Linked DNA regions of Homo sapiens: region 1 is linked to region 2. The links are contacts of gene promoters, found by promoter capture Hi-C in human tissues and cell types (Jung and others, 2019). All regions are on one chromosome and are shown on one strand. Each heading gives the region's core, a stretch centred on a gene start or on the middle of the fragment in contact. The rest is flanking DNA. Distances are from core to core; before and after follow the strand shown.

What was found. The method cuts DNA at HindIII sites, captures the fragments that hold promoters and counts their contacts. A contact is called where the count stands out against the background at its distance.
Region 1: a contact is called between a fragment that was not itself captured here and the fragment with the promoter of TMEM132D in region 2, in 2 of the 25 tissues and cell types used here (H1 embryonic stem cells and dorsolateral prefrontal cortex).

Annotation. Positions count from the first base shown.
Region 1 is chr12:129,832,043-129,835,562 of GRCh38, forward strand. The region is part of intron 1 of TMEM132D (transmembrane protein 132D); the gene reads right to left. Among named protein-coding and RNA genes, the nearest start is that of TMEM132D, 70 kb to the right of the region's middle. The HindIII fragment of the contact is 4,178 bases long and covers 1-3,520 here.
Region 2 is chr12:129,902,477-129,906,206 of GRCh38, forward strand. It overlaps TMEM132D (transmembrane protein 132D), which reads right to left and starts at 1,549. Exons shown (of 9, transcript NM_133448.3): 1 at 785-1,549. The coding sequence starts at 863. The HindIII fragment of the contact is 10,076 bases long and covers 1-3,730 here.

The sequences.
Region 1 (3,520 bases), core at 278-2,777, 70 kb before region 2:
TTTTTTTTTTTTTTTTTTTGTATTTTAGTAGAGACGAGGTTTCACCATGTTGGCCAGGCTGGTCTCAATCTCCGGACCTCGTGATCCGCCCGTCTCAGCCTCCCAAAGAGCTGGGATTACAGGTGTCAGCCACTGCACCTGGCCGTTTTGTAGCATTTTTAAAGGGTTGGAAGAAGGAACAGGAGGAAGAGATATAGAATAACGGAAAGAAAAGAAGGAGAGGAAAAAGGGGGAGGGAAAGAATGAAAAGGAAGAGGAGGAAGAGAAGATGTAACAGAGGCCACATGTGTTTTACAAATTATATATATACATAAAATATTTTTGTAAAAGGATATATCATAAATATTATATATTATATTCTATAACATGGTATATAACATATCGAATAGGACATATATTTACTACGTAGCTCTTTACAAAAAAGCTTGCAGACCCTGCACTAAACCATGGAGCCTGTTTGTTTATGAAATGGGGAGATGACATCCTCGCAGCTTCCCCCATAGGTCCACTGGGAGCATCAAACAAGATGATGCATATCTGAGTATTTTTGTGGCTTCTGCAGCACTAGGTCCATCCCAGCATGGCCACCTCTGCCTCCTCCCAGGCCTCTGCCCGGCAGGTGAAGGGCTGAGGTGCGCAGGCTCAGAGATAGTCAGGGGACGCTGCAGGCATTTGTTCCATTCCGCCCGTCACTGTTGCCACAAACCCGGCCATGATCTGAGAGGAAGGCTTTCTTTATGGAGCCGTCACTTTTCTGAATCCTGGGGGAGTCCTTCAAAGGCACCGTCTCCAATAATCCCACTTTCACCTGTCAGAGAGCTTGTTTTGAATTCAGTTTCAACCCCTTCAATCCAAGTTCCACCTTGCTAAGAACTAGCAAACTCATTTAACTCTTTCTCGCAATCCCCCTCTACTCCCTACCTTAGCTGGTCACTCTCAGAAAGTCAACCTTGACCTACGGGTTCTTCACACTGATGCCTCTCGCAAATTACAAATGCCTCTGGCCGATGTCCAGACTTTGACCTTGAAGATGCTCGTGCCTGAGTGCAGGCTGTTCTGTGGTTTAGTGTGTGCTCCACACACAACTCTACTTGGCTTTCATAGACCCCGTAGATATTTTTCCAGATAAATTGTCCTCGCATTGATGTGTGACCCATGCAACTGAATTGTTTTTAATGCAGGCCTCAAGTAAGCTACAGTCGGACACACACAAAGGCAAACCTTGTTCCCTTTCTGCCCTTGTAATTCCTTCCTACACCATTAAAGAATATTTCTGGGCTGGGTATGGTGGTTCATGCCTGTAATCCCAGCACTTTGGGAGGCTGAGGTGGGCGGATCATGTGAGCCTAGGAGTTTGAGACCAGCCTGGGCCATGTGGTGAAACCCCATCCCTACAAAAAAATGAAAAACAAAAACAAAAACAAAAACAAAAAACAGCCAGCTGTGGTGGTGTGCACCTGTAGTCCCAGCTACTTGGGAGGAGGAGGTGGGAGGATCGCTTGAGCCCAGGAGTTCGAGGCTGCTGTGAGCTGTGATCACGCCACTGTTCTCCAGCCTGGGCAACAGAGCAAGACCCTATCTCAAAAAAACAAAAAACTCAGAATATTTGTTTCATTTCATTCCTGTTTTTAATGTGAATTTGTGTTTTTCTAAGAATAAAGCTGTACCCATGTGAAATTCACAGCCCATTGCCACAGGCACCGTCCCCAATTTCAGCTCTAGCTTCCACTCCTCTGCCCATGGGCAAGGCATTTAACAAGTCGGTGTCAGTCTACAGGAAACTCCTCTCAAGCAAATAGCATAACTAGGTCTGGGGATCTCGGCTGTTGTTCCTAATGCCTACATGCCTAAAACTATTTTTTTTTTAATTCAAGCATGTCGCATATGAGCAGTACCCAGGATTCCTCACTTTCAAATGTGCTCTCCACAAGATTCTGACACCCAGCCTGGTTGGGGGAATCACTGAGGGGGTGTCATCTCTGTTCTTCCTCCCCAGGAACTTTCGGATCACTGTTCAAGGACTGAGGCCCATCTGCTCCATAAGGGATTGTAACCGAGTGGCCCAGACTTGAAACACATTTTACAGTTTTTCCTTTCCCTTCCTTCTTCATCTCAGAATGTAGCCTGGAAATACACTTTAAGACTTCACTTCCCTCCTTTCCACCAGGCACTCGGATGTGCTATTCTCCCTCCTCCAAGTATGCACTTACTTAGAAATTCTAGGGGCTTGTTTTGAAACAAACCAGTCCCGAGACCCAGCTGCTGCTTAAATGGAGTTATGGACAATTAGTCCACCACCACCATCGGGCCAGCATCAAGATAATGGCAACCAAACCTCAGGACAGGCAATTTCTCAAGATAGCCATTGGAACAGGGCACATGGACCTACACCCCGCCCCCTCCCTCCCATACCACTCCTGCATATCTCCCATACAGTTTTCCTTCCTAAACCCCCTCTCTCAGCCCTGAAAGATGAATGGTCTTTTGAGGACATGAGCCTGACCATGCACCAGCTGCTAGCACTGGAATAAAGCCGCTTTCCTTCCACCACTCCTCGCTTCTGTTCTGGTCCCTGGGCAGTGAGCAGCAGGACCTGAGTCGGTTTCAGGATGAGCACGATTCCTGTGATGAAGGCATCAGGCGGCAGGGCTCACAGTGCAGACCCACAAATGGAACCCCGTCCACAGAGGGCTCAGGCCAGCACAGCGTCTTAAAATCATCTGAATCTCACCATTTTGAAGTGGAAACCACATGCTCTATTCCCCACAGGCTGCACATTGGGCCGTTTTATTCATCAGGAACTTGGGGCATGGTGGATGGAACCTATGAGCTTTTTGGTATCTGAACAAGAACTGATAAAGATGGTAAATGGATACTATGGAGAATTGAACAGAAGGGAGAGGAACAAACAGCAACGTGCCCAGATCTTAGGAAACACATGCTTACTGAATGAAGCAGGTAAAAAAGGAAGCCAGGATAGAGTGTAACATCAGCCGTATGCACTAGGACACATGCCCACATGGCCATCTGTCTTTATTTTACAAAGACACGGGATATTTGAGGCTCAATAGCAAAGGCATTAGGATCGGCACCCATGGGAGATGAGAAACAGCCCTAGTGCAAGGAGATGCAAGAAAAGTAGAAAATACAGCAAGGAAAGGGCTTTGCTGGGGTTAATGACAGTCTGTCCTCAAACTGTTAGGTTAACTCAATTTTCTGTCCATGAGGTTTTGGGGTTTTGAGGGGTTCGTCTTTGTTTTTGTTTTGAGATAGGATCTTACTTTGTCACCCAGGCTGAAGTGCAGTGGCGTGATCTTGGCTCACTGAAGCTTCGACCTCCTAGGTTCAAGCGATCCTCCTGCCTCAGCCCCTCAAGTAGCTGGGATTACAAACAAGCGCCACCAGGTCCGGCTAATTGTTTTATTTTTAGTAGAGACAAGGTTTCACCATGTTGTCCAGGCTAGTCTCGAACTCCTGACCTCAAATGATCCACCTGCCTCGGACTCCCAAAGTGCTGGGA
Region 2 (3,730 bases), core at 299-2,798:
TCCAGAGCTTCCAAACTTGCTCTTCCCATGACAGACAGGGATGCTGGCAGAAGAGAAGAGGAAACATTGAGGAATTCCTGCCTTGACACATGGCTTCAAGTCAGGGCTCCGCTGGGAAAATTCGGGTCACAACTTGTAGCTGAAACTCCACGTGCACCCTGCGGGGCCGCTGCTGCTCCCAGCACCCTACGGAAGGGTGAGCGCCAGACCCTGTGCCCAAACCTCACAGCGGCAGACCTGGAGAAACCCATCCCCCTTCTTCAGAGCCGCCCCCCAGGCTATATTTTTGGCAGCCTATAATACACAAAATAGTATTCCCATACAACAGGAGTGCTCCAAAATTATTTCCAAATAGGTCAGTGCCACCAGGGAAAGTCAATCCCAAATTCCAGAAATCTCCCTGGTCATCTCAATCCCCTCCTCCCCCGACAGCCGGCTCGGCCCTCCAGAGGCCACCTTTCCTCTCAAGGGTCCCCACGCCCTCTCCCTTTACAGAAAAGGCTTTCAGGAAACAGCCTTCCTTTCCTTTCGGCTCCTTAGTAGTCTCACCTAAGGCCTCCCACCCAAGTGCTCCAGGACAAGCACCTTCGGCCAAGGGGCGTCCGAGGAGCTTGGCTGCCGCACGAGCGCACGTTCACACGCGCGCACACACACATGCACACAAGCGCGCACACACACTTGCACACGAGCCCTCTCTCCCGGCCGCCCCCATCCTCCACACACTCCCACACACTCACTCCAGGCGAAGTTAGTCCCCGGGCCCTGGCGGCCGCGGCGTCCTCACCTTTGGAAAACAGGGCGGCCAGGCTGATGAGTACCGGCGACCAGTGGTGCCACAGCGTCCCCATCTCAGACGGGCACATCCTGGAGACCCGGAGCGCAGATCCTCCGCTCCCCGGCGCCGTCCAGGCGAACAAGAGACCGTCTCAGTCCCCTAGAGGCCCGCAGCGGGGCCGGTGGCGAGGGAGCGCCCGGCTAGGGGCCCGAGCAGCCCGGGCGCCCTGCTCCCTCTTCCCGCCAGTCCATGGCCAGGCCGGGAGGCGACGACCGCGCGGGCTCCTGAGTTGCTCTCCGGAGTCCAACACGCGCGCAGGCAAACCCCACCTCCCTCCTTCGACCCCAACAGAATTTTTTTTAAATTTTAATCCACAGGGGGTATTTCCTTTCCTGTTTACCCGAGCGAAGAGTGGCCCCCGGTGGCCCAAGGAGGGGCGCCTCCAGGCGCAGGGCTCCGGCGGCTCCAGCTGCTCCCGGGCTGGCTAGCGGGCGCTGGCGCAGGCGGCGCCGGGGTGGCGGGGCTGCGGAGCCCGGGACGCGGGCAGAGGCGGCTCGGAGCCCCCCGGGCGGGTGGCCGGGCTCGCTGGGCGGCCCGGGGCTCCCTGGCCCGCAGCCCCCATCCCAGGCCGGCCGCTGCGCCTCGGGGCTCGGGCGCGCGCGCGCTCCGGCACCCAAAGTTTGGCGGGTGCGGCTGCTCCCCGGCCGCCGCCTCGGCCCGCCCGGCCCCGGGCCCGGCTGGGGCTCGCGGGGCTCTACGCGCGCCGAGCGCACTGCAGGCTCCGGAGACGCGGGGCTCCCCCCTGCGCCCGGGGGAGGCGGGCCAGATGTGCGCGGAGGAGGGCCCGCCGGCTCGGGGACGCGGCCGAGCAACGCAGCTGCCTCCTGCCAGCAGGCGCGGGGGCTCCGCTCCGCAAGGACCGCATCCGGAACGGAACGGAGGCGATCGCCACGGTGCCCGGAGCCGGCTGGGGCTTTCGCCTTAAAAATTTGTCTGCTTTTAAAAAGCCCCACCCTTTCGGAGTGACAGCTGTGAGCCCCAATCCGCAAAGTAAATCCCACCTCCCCCTGGCCGCCCCACGCCCAGCCTCCCGGCCACCCTCCCTGCGAGCGCGGACGCGCGGTGGCGGCGGGCGAGGGCTCCCAGCGCGGGCGCACCCCGGGGACGGAGCCACCCACTCTCCCAACAGGTGTCCAGCTGGCCACCGGCCTCTCGTCGTCATCAAAACCTCAGGCCCAGGGGAGGTCCTCCAGCCCGGGGGCACCTGAGGCTCTTCGCCAGGGAGAGCGCAAGGATGGCTGGAGAAGGGCCCTCGCCCCGCCCTGCGCATCTCCCAGGGATCGCAGTGAGGAAGTCTCTGACACGCCACACTGAGGTCATGCTGGCCCCAAGCCCCTTCCCAGAGCGATCCCCCAAGTTAGTGTCCCTAGAAACATGTCGTGTGCTCCCCAGGGCTCACTGGGAAAGGAAATGGATCCATTAGGAGACAACATTGCTTTGAGAAGATAAAAGACATGATTCTCAACACCGCCCGGAATCTCCAACTAAGACATTCCCACACCAAGATCCCTAAGCACCGTCCTGTAATTTGTAGCCCAAGAACTGCTTTGCTCCACGAGAGCCTTTAAATTAACCCCATCAAAGCTCAGAGGGAAGAAAAGCATTCAGAATTTTTAAGGAATATTGTAAACCAACAAGCCCTGAATCTAATGAGGTGAATTCACCTCAGTAGATAAAAATGGGTCGTTATCATCTGACTGAGGGGGCAATGGACTTTTTTATCCTGTATGCCTGTAGTTGCAGAAATATACCAATGCTTTAAGAGTTTTTAGCTTTCAAAGTTTCAAGGAAGATCAAAAAAGCCACTGCTGTTCTACCGAAGATTGTTTTTCTGGGTTCATGTCCTTTGAGATGTGCTCTTGTCTTTTATTCTGTATCTACTTATCTGAATATATCTGTCTTTCTGTTTTTTCTTTTGTTTGTTTCTTAAACTTGTTGCCTTTTCTCTTTGTATTGCTCTCCTGTAAAATTCCTAAGAGTCGACGCTGCAAAGACCCTAAGAGATTGTCTCTTTCACTGTTTCTGAAGTTTGAACCAGCAGGAGAGTCACTGGAAAATTTGTTAGACCTGGGTTGCTGGGCCCACCCCAGAGCTATCTCGGCAGGTCAAGGTGGGACTTCCGATCTCCGTTCCTAAAAAGTTCCAGGTGATGCTGATGCTGCCGGCCTGCGGAACACGTGCTGGAACCACTGGTCCCCTTTCTCCTTCACCTGAGTGATGAGAGAGCTGAGCTTTCGTCTCTTGGACACCTTCACCTGGTCTCTGAGTGTCAAAATTGATGCCCGCACTGAATGCATAATCCAGGTTCCATCCTTAACGCTACAGTGGGTCTGAGTCTATTTGTAAATCATCTATTTGTGACACTGAGTCTATTTGTAAGACATTTCTCAGACATATTGACTAGAAACAAGTGGTCCCTGTTCTTTATTAAAAACAATCATTTTATGTTTCTCTAAATCAAATTGAGTTTTTCCCCTGAATTGCAATCATCAAATAACTTTTCTTTTTGCCATTGCAGAAGGTTTCTCTATCTGTAATGTGAAGACAAAAGGTGACTGTCAAGTTCCAGCTGCTGCCTAAAATGTTAAACGGTTTCTTCATTATGCGTAGTTGGCGAAACAAAAGTTTTTTCCACTCTTTGGTATGGAAGATTTTTTGGGAAGATGCAACTTCAGATACCTAATCAGTGGCTAAAATAAGATGCAAGAATGGCTTCTTACTTTTTCTCTCTCCAGTATGCCATTCTCCCTGGTACATCTAATCTTCTTTGGGTAATTAACACAGCTAATTGTGGGGAAGCAAAACTTAGACTTGGAGATGGACACTGAGGGCTCATAGGTCCCTAACTCCAGCCCCTGCCCCAGGACAACTTCCCATCAAAATCGCCTGCCTTGT